Linked DNA regions of Homo sapiens: region 2 is linked to region 1. Evidence: promoter capture Hi-C in human tissues and cell types (Jung and others, 2019). All regions are on one chromosome and are shown on one strand. Each heading gives the region's core, a stretch centred on a gene start or on the middle of the fragment in contact. The rest is flanking DNA. Distances are from core to core; before and after follow the strand shown. Region 1 holds the start of LOC105376325 (a long non-coding RNA gene). Region 2 holds the start of SNAPC4 (small nuclear RNA activating complex polypeptide 4).

Region 1 (5,047 bases), core at 703-3,202:
AAATGCCTCAGACCTGAACGCTTCCCACCATCTTGGCTGAGCGTTTGACCACATCGGTGGATGCCCCACTGGGTTGCATTCTAGTCCGTGCCGATGGCCTCTGCGGGGGCTCCTTCCAATCCCTTGAGACGTGGGCCATGTTGTAGGGGATGCTGGCAGTTAGTGGGAAGTGTGAGCACTGAGGGGCCCCCAGTCCTGGAGAGGAAGCCTTCTGGGCTGCGGGTCTCTCTCCTGCCAGGCATCCCGGGCACCATGCAGCCCCTGCCACCCTGGGCTCAGCCTGCCCCGTGCCCTCTGCAGTCCTTCCTCAGCCAAGGGCAGCTCCTGGAGTTTAGGGGATGGGAGTGGACTCCTTCTGGGGTGGGTGGAACCTCTCCTCCACCCAGCTCAGCAGACCGGTTGTGAGGTTGCCGCGTAGGCACCATGGGCAGTCGGGGGTAAGGATGGATACCTCTCGGTAGCTGATGCGGGGCTCACGCTGGGCTGGCACTTTAAGACAGATGCCGGAGGAGCAGCCAGGGGTGTTTGTGGGGCACATGGGCCGGGCCAGGCCAGCGCCTCTCTGGGACCTCAAGCAGGAGAGTGGTCGGTCCAGCCCGGGAGGGAGCCTGTGGCTAGGCCTGTGCAGGAGTCGGGGGGGACTCTCGGTGGGGACCCTCCCGGCAGCCGAAACTGGGGGAGGGAGAGCAGAACATCTGGCCCTGCTGGGTTGGGGCTGATGCTTCTGTTTAGCCGTAGCAGCCTCCCTGGGGTTGATTTCCTAGAGCTCCTACACCCCCAGTTTGTCCGGGGCCCCAGCCGTAGCTGCTACTGGGGGCCTCAAACTCCCCCAGGGCAGCCAGGACCCCAGGGGCTGTGGAGCCAGGGGCAGAGTGGAGGTGGGGGTCGGGGGAGGGCTGCAGCCGGGCCCATAGTCCCCACCCTGCAGGCCGGAGCAGGAAGGGCTGGCGGGAGCCAGGGACAAAAGGCGGACGTGCAGCCGGCCATGTGTGTCCTTATCACAGGCTGCACTCCCAGCACAGCAGCCTGCGCGGAAACGCTCCTCTCCGCCGCCTTCCTGCCTGGAAGCCCGGAGGCGGAGGCGGAGGCGCTGGAGGCCCCCACCCAGCGGGACGGGAGGCTGAGGGGAGCAAGGGGAGCGAGCGGAGCCAGGTGGGGGCAGATGTGCAGGATGGGTCAGGGGCAGCGGGGTGGGAGGCCCAGCCTCCGGGGTCTGGAGGGTTAGCTGAGTACTTCACGCTGCACTGATCTGTGGGGCCGCCGTGATGTGGGTGCTAACGCTCTCCCCACCTGTTGGATGGGGAAACTGAGGCCCAGGGCAACAGTGACCTCTCGAGGTCAGGCCCCAGCTAGGTGAGGCACAAACTCAGTCCAGAGGCGGCCCCGGGGGCTCTGCCGTCCACCCAGGCTCTGGCTGACAAGGGGCCCTCCTGCTGTGCTGGCTCCCGAAGGGGATGGCCCGGACTGGGCCCAGCTGCCCTCTGGTGGATATGGGGCCACCCCAGTCAGGGTGGGGCTGACAGGGTCCATGCTCCCTCCCGCCCTCGGACGTGCAGACTTGAAGAACGCTGGCGGGCGGGCTTGGGGGCCTAGCACCGGCCAGGTCACCAGTGCTACCTTCCTCTGAGTGAATCTGCCGGAGGACTGAGCTGGGGTCCGGGAACGGCTTCCCAGCAGGCCCTGCAGCCTATTCTGCCCCAGGCGTAAGTCATGCTCCCTCCCTGGGAGGACATGGCTGCTGGTGGGGTGCTGGGGCCACATCCAGTCCTCTTGGCTTCTTGAGGTTGGGGTGATGACTGCCCCCAGCACGTGAAACCCATGGGTAGGCGGTGGGGACTGTGTTCCTGCCCTGATGACACCTGCTGTGGGAAGGCACCAGAGCCCCTGCAGGCCCCCACTTCTGCAGAAGCACGGGGGGTGGGGGGTGGGGGGCGTGGGAGAGGCCCACAGAGGCTTGTGCCCCTCTAACCTGTTCCGTGGTGACAGGGCTCTCGCTTGCCTCCCGGGGAGGCATCCTGAGCCCAGTGGCTAGATTCAGGTCGTGGCCCTGCTGTGAGAGGGACCTTTGCGTCCCTGACTGACAGTGGGTGAGCCAGGCCGTGAGAGTCTTTTTCTGTTGGCCGTGGCTGGAGCCTGTGACCTGCAGGCCAGAGAGCGCAGGGCCACCTGCAGTCGCCGACCGGGCCCATTGTCATCTGTGGATCTGGCTGTGCCTCAGTTTCCCACCCATCAACTGGGGCTGGGGCTGTAGCTGAGTGGCGCTTCCTTGGGGGGTGGGAGAGGAGAGGCTGCCATATCCAGAGCACGTCCGCCCTAGGCCCTGGCCCGGCCCGGGGCCCTGCCTCCGCTAATTTGAGAGGATAGAGGAAGTCCCCTGTGGCCTCTCCCCTTCTCAGCTGACCTCACCCATCTGGGGCTGCACAGGAAATGCCCGGGTGTGCTGGGGCCTGACCCTTCTGCAGAGCCGGGGCCCCAGCGCCAGCCGCCCGCCATCTGCTGACCTCTGGCCAGGCTCAACGCCACACTCTCCAAGGCTGACTCAGAGCCCTGGGAAAGGGTCAGGGGCTCCCACCTCCGTGCTGAGCTCATCAGGGAGGGGCTCAGCACCTGGTCACCTCTGTGTCCTCACACCCCAGGCTCTGCCTGGCTGCTGCCTGCCTGGTGGTCAGTGCCTGTCACCCCCACTGTCCCCTCCAGGCCACAGGAAGAGTCTGAGCAGGGAGAACCCTGGTCTCACGGGCTCCCAGGGCCCTGGCACCGAGGGTGTGAGGAGCCTCTCCTGGGACAAAGGCCGAGGGGTTCCGGGGGTCCTTGGCCTCCGTGGCCGTTGGCATGGGGCCCCCCCAACGACCCGCAGCCGGCAGATGGGGCGGCGGCTGCAGTTCCCCCAATGCTCACAGCGCGGCGGTGTTTCCCCGCGGAAGCTGCCCCGGACCAGTGGCCTCTACCCTGCTGCTGCCAGCCTTGGGCGGGGCTCCCTGCACGTGGGACACGCACCCCTCCCACCCTGACAGCCTGTGCGTCCCGCCCTGCGTGGCTTCTCTCCAAAGGCTCTTAAGATTCGAGGAGAGGGGCGGAGAGAGGACCTGGCTTGGTTGGGAAGTGGGGCCTGGGACCCTGGGACCCTGTGCTCCGACCCCACCTGCAAGGCTGCGCCCTCCGCAGGGGGCCGTCCGGGGGGGCCCTGCCCGCGGGTCACTGCCAGGATCCTGCAAGCAGCCAGCGGGCACCGCTGTCACCACATTTCACACTCTGAGGAGCTCTGGGCACAGCCTCCAGGGAAAGCCTGGCTGCCGACTCTGGCCCCCTGACTCCTGAATCCTGCGAGTCACACGGCGGCACGGCCTGCATATCGGGGAGGATGGCAGGCTGGGCTGTCCTGAGGTGACCAGGGAATGCCAGACGCTTTGGGGTGAGGGTTTGCTTGCCGGCTTTGGGGCAGGCCAAGGGATTCTGCAGGGGCAGTAGGTCCCCGCGATCTTCTGGGGAGGGGCCGGCTGCCGAATCTCTGGGATTCAAATGTGGAAAACCCACAGGGGGCATTCCCGTGATGACTGAAAGAAGAAGTGGCAGCGTCACAGCTGAAGGGAGGCTGTCAGAGTGACCAGAGTGGCCAGTCCAGAGGAGACGGGTGGGGCAAAGTCTCCAGGAGGCCAGGAGATGCCTTCAAGAAAAGAAATGGAAAGGAGTGATGACCTGATGCGTGTGAGAACACGGGGACGAGCCTTGCGGCTCCGTGGGAGAGCTTGGGTGAGGACCACCCGTGCCGCGGCGACCTCTGATCGTCACCCAAGCTGTGCCCTCCCATTTCACGGTAAAAGGGGTTTCACCGGGCTCAAGGCTGTCCAGCTAAAGACCACGTCTCCCAGCCTCCTTGCAGACTCTAACTTAGCCTGTGACCAAGTTCTGGTCAATGGGACCAGAGCAGGAGTGGGAGGTGTCACTTCCGGATCTTCCCATTAAAAGAAAGGGTCATTCTCCAGGAGAACCCACCCGAGGTGTCCTGGCCGTAGCCACCTTCAAAATGCCCTCTGTGTGTATGGGAGATACTATACCCTAGAATCTCAGAACACGCCAGAACGCTGAAATGCCCTTCTACCTTTGGATTTACAGCCCCCTCCAGATAAATTAAGAAATTCAGTATTTCTCCACTCTTAGCTGGATTCTAAAGTTCTGTATATCTCATGATGATGTGTATTTTTATAGCAGCCTTTTAACAGAACTAGTTAATTTGGTGTATATGAATTTTTCTCGAAGATCTGGTCCAAACTATATTCAGTTTTCTGCCCAGAATTATCAGATTGAAGGTGGTTGGTTTTTATTTACTTTTTCTTTTATTCCTTTTTTTTTTTTTTGAGACAGAGTTTCACTCTGGTTGCCCAGGCTGGAGTGCAATGGTGTGATCTCAGCTCACTGCAAGGTCTACCTCCCAAGTTCAGGTGATTCTCTTGCCTCAGCCTCCCAAGTAGCTGGGACTACAGGTGCCCGCCCCCACACCTAGCTAATTTTTGTATTTTTAGTAGAGTTGGGGTTTCACCATATTGGCCAGGCTGGTCTCGAACACCTGACCTTGTGATCCACCTGCCTCGGCCTCCCAAAGTGCTGGGATTACAGGTGTGAGCTACCGTGCCTGGCCAGGGTCACTCTCTTGTTGACCCTTCCCTCCCTCCTGCAGGCAGGGAGATGGTGAGAGGTGGAGCAGCCCCTTTGGTCCTGAGCCAGCCACGTGTTGAGAGCGGCAGGGAAGCCCATCAGCCTCGGGACTTTCATGTGAGGGAGAAACCAACTCTATCATGTTTAGATTCCTGTTGTTTTGGTTCTTTGCCTCAGTAACTTAACCAATATTCTAACTAAGCAAGTGAAAAAGGAAGCAACTTTGAATTCCAGGAAAAACAAAAAGTTATAAAAAGGAAATGCATTTATCATATAGTACTTGGCTCAAGAGTGAACAATTACAGAGTTATATTAATGCAAGTGCTGACTATCCGTGTGAAGAATTCAGGATCCGTCGTCTGTTTGAAGGTGGGAGGGGAGAAGGGCATGCACT
Region 2 (5,047 bases), core at 761-3,260, 250 kb after region 1:
GATGTGCCTCTTTGGCTGGGGGTTCTGGTGGACGTTTCAAGTGGCATTTTGTACAATGCAGGTTAGAATTCAGGAATTTCAAGTATGTGCCCGGGTCTGTCAGGTCCCAGTTGCCTTTCTGACGGCCCCCCTCAGAGGGACGGCGATGAGCACTAAATGCTTTTTTGACTATTTTCCTATAGATTTTTTTTAAAACTTTTTTTTCCTCCTGTTCCAATTGATAGCTTTCTTATTTAATAAATTCTGTAGTTCACCGCACTGTCTCTTCTCTGCTGACTTAGCCAGTCCTTGGAGAACGCCGTGGGCTTCCACACCTCACTTGCTCTTGCCCTAACTGGTGCCTTGTGCTGGCAGATTCTCTCCAGGTCCTCAGCCCTTGGGGTTAGGGGCAGACTCAGACCACTGCTGCCTGGGCCTGACCACTGGGACCCACACGTGATGGACGTGTGAGTCACGCAGCTGCACGTTTCAGAGCTGGACAGACTGGATTCTAGCATTGGATCATCTTTTCGGATCATGTGGTTGAATTTTTCAAACAAGGCGTCTGAATTGCTAGACCCCTAGCCTTAGCTACAGGTGAAGGCCAGAGCTTTCCAGCAGTCACTGTGGAGCGGTCCTGCTGCGTAGCCCTATGCGCCTCCTGCTCCTGCTGGTTGGTGAAAGCAGGCTCTGGATTCTGTTGGCAGAGCTGACTTGAGACAGGGTGCTGTGGTTGGGAAGTGCCGGAATGAGGTTCTGAGTGTATAGGCAGCTCTGGGAGCCCTGTAGCAGCAGGATGGGGGCATCTGGGGAGGATGCCTCAGGCCACAGGCCTTCCCTGAGGCCCTTTGGGAGAGACAGCATTTGATGGGGTGGGGGTCACAAAGGCCAGATCGCCAGGCGGGTCCCATCCACCAGATGCGTGTGAAGTGGGGTGGTCCCCTGGCCCTCATGCCAGCAGCTCATGGAGCAGGTGGGGCCCAGGGAAGCGCGGTGGGGATGGGCATGTGGGTTTTGCGCACCCCTCTCTTTTGATGTCTGTGTTTGAAGCGTTTGATAGTAAGAAGTTTAAAAATACAATTTGTGGCGCGGTATTTAGTGCCTGCCTTCTGCCTCCAGATTTCAAGCCCGATGCAGGGACTGAAACGAGGCGCTCGAGGAGCCCCCAGCCGCCTGGTTCCATCCCCTCCATCTGTTTCTTGCCAATCCCTAGCTCCCAGTTTGGCCTCACCTGGGCCTAGCCCTTTGCCACCAAAAGCCCACCTCCTAGGTAGGCAGGGCAAACCCTCTTTATAGTTCTCCAGCTGATGCCCCTAGCTCACCCCAGGCTGGAGTGGAGGCCCCCTCAACTGGCTGGGCCCAGGATGTCTTTGCAGCACCGATACTTAGAAGCTCTCAGGAGCCAGGAACTGTAGGCCCCTGCCCAGCTCCCGGCCGAGTTAGCCCTGGCACGTTCCTGAAGGAATGAATGCCCACTTAGGGGAGGGCCCCGGGGCAGCTCTCCAGGCCAGGAGACCCCAGAGGGTGTGCACAGGTGACCAGGGAAGCGAGTTTGTGTGGTGCGGGCCCCCACCCTCTGGCCTCAGTCTCCTGCACGTGCCTGGAGATCGGCCTGGCCTCGGCGATCCTGAGCATGCAGGGCAGGCTGGGGAAAAAGCCTTTCACGTAGACTTTCTCATCCGTTGCTTAACCAAACCCCAACATGTCCGTTAACAGAGGATGAAACAAGCACAGAGAGGTCCAGCGATGGCCGAAGGTCACAGCCAGTAAGGGCCGGTCTTCCGGATCGTGACCAGGTGGCCGGGTGCCTGTCCCTGTCTGTCCCCTGCCTTGAGGTCCCGCGTCCACCCGCGCCCCTCCAGAGCGCGCGGAGGCGGCCCCCAGGGCGGCCGCGCGAGGGCAGCATCGAGCCGTTCGCCTCTCTAGTCCCGGCAGGCCGCAGCGGCCGTCCCGGCGTGCCCCGCGCCTCAGGAGGCGGGACTTCCGGCGCGCGGCGCTCTTGTTCTGCAGCCGCCGGAAGCGTCGAGTCTGCAGTCGCCCGGGCGACGGCGGGGTCCGCGCGGCCAGGTAAGGTGTGCGCCCAGCAGGTGAGGCGCGGGTGGCGTCGGCAGCTTCAGGGCTCTCCCCGTGGAGGGGGCGCTGTCCCGAGGAGCGGATAGCCGAGGCCCGGGACGGGGGCGGGGCAGCGCCCAAAGTCGGGGAAACTGAGGCCCGGCGTGGCCCCCGTCCGGCCGAGCCTGGGCGCGCGGGGATTCTGGCCCTGGGAGCCCCTCGGCTGGGAGCGGGCTGCGGGCTCCGAGGAGGCTCCGGCGGGGCGGCCCCGGCTGCAGGGCGCCCGCGTGCGTCTCGGGGACTGCGCCGGCGATTCCGCGGTGGCCGAGCCTCGGAGGGGGTTTCCCCAGTTCACGCAGCGAGCAGGAGGCGGAACTGGGCCTGGGCCGGGTCTGTCTCCCAAGCCAGTGCCTAAACGCCCATCGTCCTGGCGCATCCTGGGGTTCCCTGGGCCCAGCCGAGTCTGGGTGGCGTCCCCGCAGCTGGGGCTGGAGGGACCGCCTGCTGCGCTCCGTCTTGGTGGGCAGCCCTCATGACCAGCCCTTGGGAGAGGGGTGCGGGGAGAGGGACAGCCCCTGATGTCAGTGGCTCAGCACGTGTGACTTTGACCTCCTTCCTGCTGATCATTGCTCACCTGAGCGACACGGGGAGGGGGAGGCAGCAGCCTCGTGTGAGGCTTCCAGAGGAAAGCGTCTCCGCCGGCCCGGAGGCGCTGAACCAGCCTGCGGTCGCTGCCAGCTCTGCCTCTGGCCGGCTGTTAACTGAGTTTACAGGTTCACAAGCATTTCGGGCATAAACAAGGGGCTTTGTGAAGGAGTGAGGGGACCTGGGCTGCTGATGCGGCTAACGGTGCTCGCGGGTGGATGCTTTGGTTTTGTTCCAGTTGGGCAGGGCCCCAGTCAGCCTCCAGCAGGGAGAGCCACGCCAAGGACGGGGGAGGGCGTTTCTCTTTGTTGTTGGGTGTTTTGGGCTCCCGGGTCTGTGCTAGTGATTCCTTTAGATTTTCTCTGCTAATGTTTCATTCTCCCACTCTCTCTCTAGCGTCCTTCTCCCTTCAGACTTCCTGGACCACAGTTCCTAAGAAAAAAGCTTGACAAACATTTGTTAGTGTCAGGCACTGCCACGTTCCAGGCGTTGTTCTGGATGTACAGAGAACAGCCAGCCTTCCCTTTGGGAGCTTCCTTCCCAACCATGCTGTTAGTGCCTGCCACCTGGGCAGTCTCAGTGTGTGTCTCTGTGAACGTTTCTCAAATGCCCTCTGTGGTCCGGCTCTGTGTCATGGGAGAGCAGGATGGCCAAAGTGGGTCACGGGCTGTGTCCTTGCCCTGTAGTGACTTTGCCACTGCACCCCACACCTTCTACGCTGGGTGGCCAGTTTCCATGTGGCTTGGTGTGGGAGCAGAGACGGGACAGTGGGGCCTGTCCTTGTTCATCCACTCCCTGCCTGTGCTGGTTGCAGCCTCAGAGCAGGCGGGAGATGTTCTTGGGGCTTAGGCTCCTGGCAGAGCACATAGCAGGAGTTTGTGGGGTCTGAGGTTCCTGTCCCAGGGTTCCCCGATTCTGTGCCTGGCCTATTAATCTTTCTCTGGGGAGCCCAGTGCCCACTGCCGAGCAGGCTCCTGCCATCCCCCATGGGCGGGTGTGTCTGAAGGAGAATGGGATCCCGGCACGGTCTTGGTTTCTAACATCTCGGGGTGTGTTTTGGAGGCAGGCGGGAGTCATGGATGTAGATGCTGAAAGAGAGAAGATAACACAGGAGATCAAGGAGCTGGAAAGGATTTTGGATCCCGGCTCCTCGGGCTCCCACGTGGAGATCTCAGAATCAAGTCTCGAGTCAGATTCTGAAGCAGGTAAGCCCCTTGTACCTAGCCTCCTGGGGTCCTGGTAAGAACAGCTGGTCTGCCTCCTGGGTTCCTCTCAGGCACATTAGGGAGTGATGGTAGCCGGGTGTGGTTTCTCAGGCCTGTAAACCCAGGGACTCCTGAGGCTGAGGTGAGAGCATTGTTTGATCCCAGGAGTTCATGTCCAGCCTGGACAACGCAGCAAGACCCTGTCTCTAAAAATAATAATAATAATAATAAACGATGGCTGGTGCTGCTTGGACCAGACCCAATTTTTTGCCAACACTGGTGTCTTTCTGTACTCCAGCCAGAGAGCTTCTGACAATTCCTCCTTTGCTAGCCCCTGAACCAGCTGGCTGTGTGTGTACACTGGGCTCTAGGCATCCCAGGGTCTGGGCCTGGCCTCCTTGGGCCTGTGCAGGGCTTCTGGAGTGGACCATCCTGGGAGGAGGGGGCAGGCCTGAACCTCACCAGATGGCAGTCTGGACAGTCCATGCCTGGATGGTCAACACAGCTCACACCCCTAGGATCTCTTCTTCTCACATGTGCCCCTCCCCACGTGCTCCCCACCCCAAGTGCTCTCCTCCCCACGTGCTCCCCACCCCACGTGCTCCCCACCCCACGTGCTCCCCTCCCCACGTGCTCCCCTCCCCACGTGCTCCCCTCCCCACGTGCTCCCCACCCCACGTGCTCCCCTCCCCATGTGCTCCCCACCCCATAGGCTCCCCACCCCACAGCCTCTCCTCCCAACATGCTCCCCTCCCCACATGCTCTCCTCCATGCTCCCTTTAGCTTCTGAGCCTACCCCAACCCCACCAGCTGCTGCCCTGACAGGAGACCCCCCCAGCCTTGCTTCCCACCTCTCCCAGACCCAGGGCCTGCCTCTGAGGCAACCTGCTATCTTTCTCCTGTGGTGAGGGCCTCTACATCCGTGCCTCCCATCTGACCGGCTAAGCTCCTGAAGGAGAGGTCCGTTTTCTGCTAAACTTTCCCTGTCTCTCCAGTAAAGATAGCTTGTGCCATCCAGTGAACCCTGTGTAGCTTTGTCCTGTGTGCCTGGAGGTCCCCAGTGTGTGGTCAGAGTTTTCTCTATCTGGCTAACCCGGCCTTGGTCCAGTGCCCACCCCGCTGTCAGGGAGGGAAGGTCCGCTCACCGCCAGCCTCAGCCTGAGGCG

Evidence for each region. The method cuts DNA at HindIII sites, captures the fragments that hold promoters and counts their contacts. A contact is called where the count stands out against the background at its distance.
Region 2: a contact is called between the fragment with the promoter of SNAPC4 here and a fragment that was not itself captured in region 1, in 1 of the 25 tissues and cell types used here (mesenchymal stem cells).

What each region holds. Positions count from the first base shown.
Region 1 is chr9:136,642,511-136,647,557 of GRCh38, reverse strand. It overlaps LOC105376325 (a long non-coding RNA gene), which reads left to right and starts at 3,082. Exons shown (of 3, transcript XR_930446.4): 1 at 3,082-3,412; 2 at 3,537-3,814. LOC102724193 (a long non-coding RNA gene) reads right to left here and starts at 874. Exons shown (of 4, transcript XR_930443.3): 1 at 14-874. RefSeq lists silencers at 709-898, 1,509-1,558, 2,719-2,848, 3,119-3,168, enhancers at 501-1,197, 1,198-1,895 and a cis regulatory region at 526-3,235. The HindIII fragment of the contact is 7,707 bases long and covers 1-5,047 here.
Region 2 is chr9:136,397,133-136,402,179 of GRCh38, reverse strand. SNAPC4 (small nuclear RNA activating complex polypeptide 4) reads left to right here and starts at 2,010. Exons shown (of 24, transcript NM_003086.4): 1 at 2,010-2,046; 2 at 3,743-3,881. The coding sequence starts at 3,752. It overlaps ENTR1 (endosome associated trafficking regulator 1), which reads left to right. Exons shown (of 10, transcript NM_001039707.2): 10 at 1-258. RefSeq lists silencers at 1,563-1,612, 1,763-1,972, 2,043-2,172, 2,243-2,352 and enhancers at 861-1,797, 3,527-4,726. The HindIII fragment of the contact is 18,374 bases long and covers 1-5,047 here.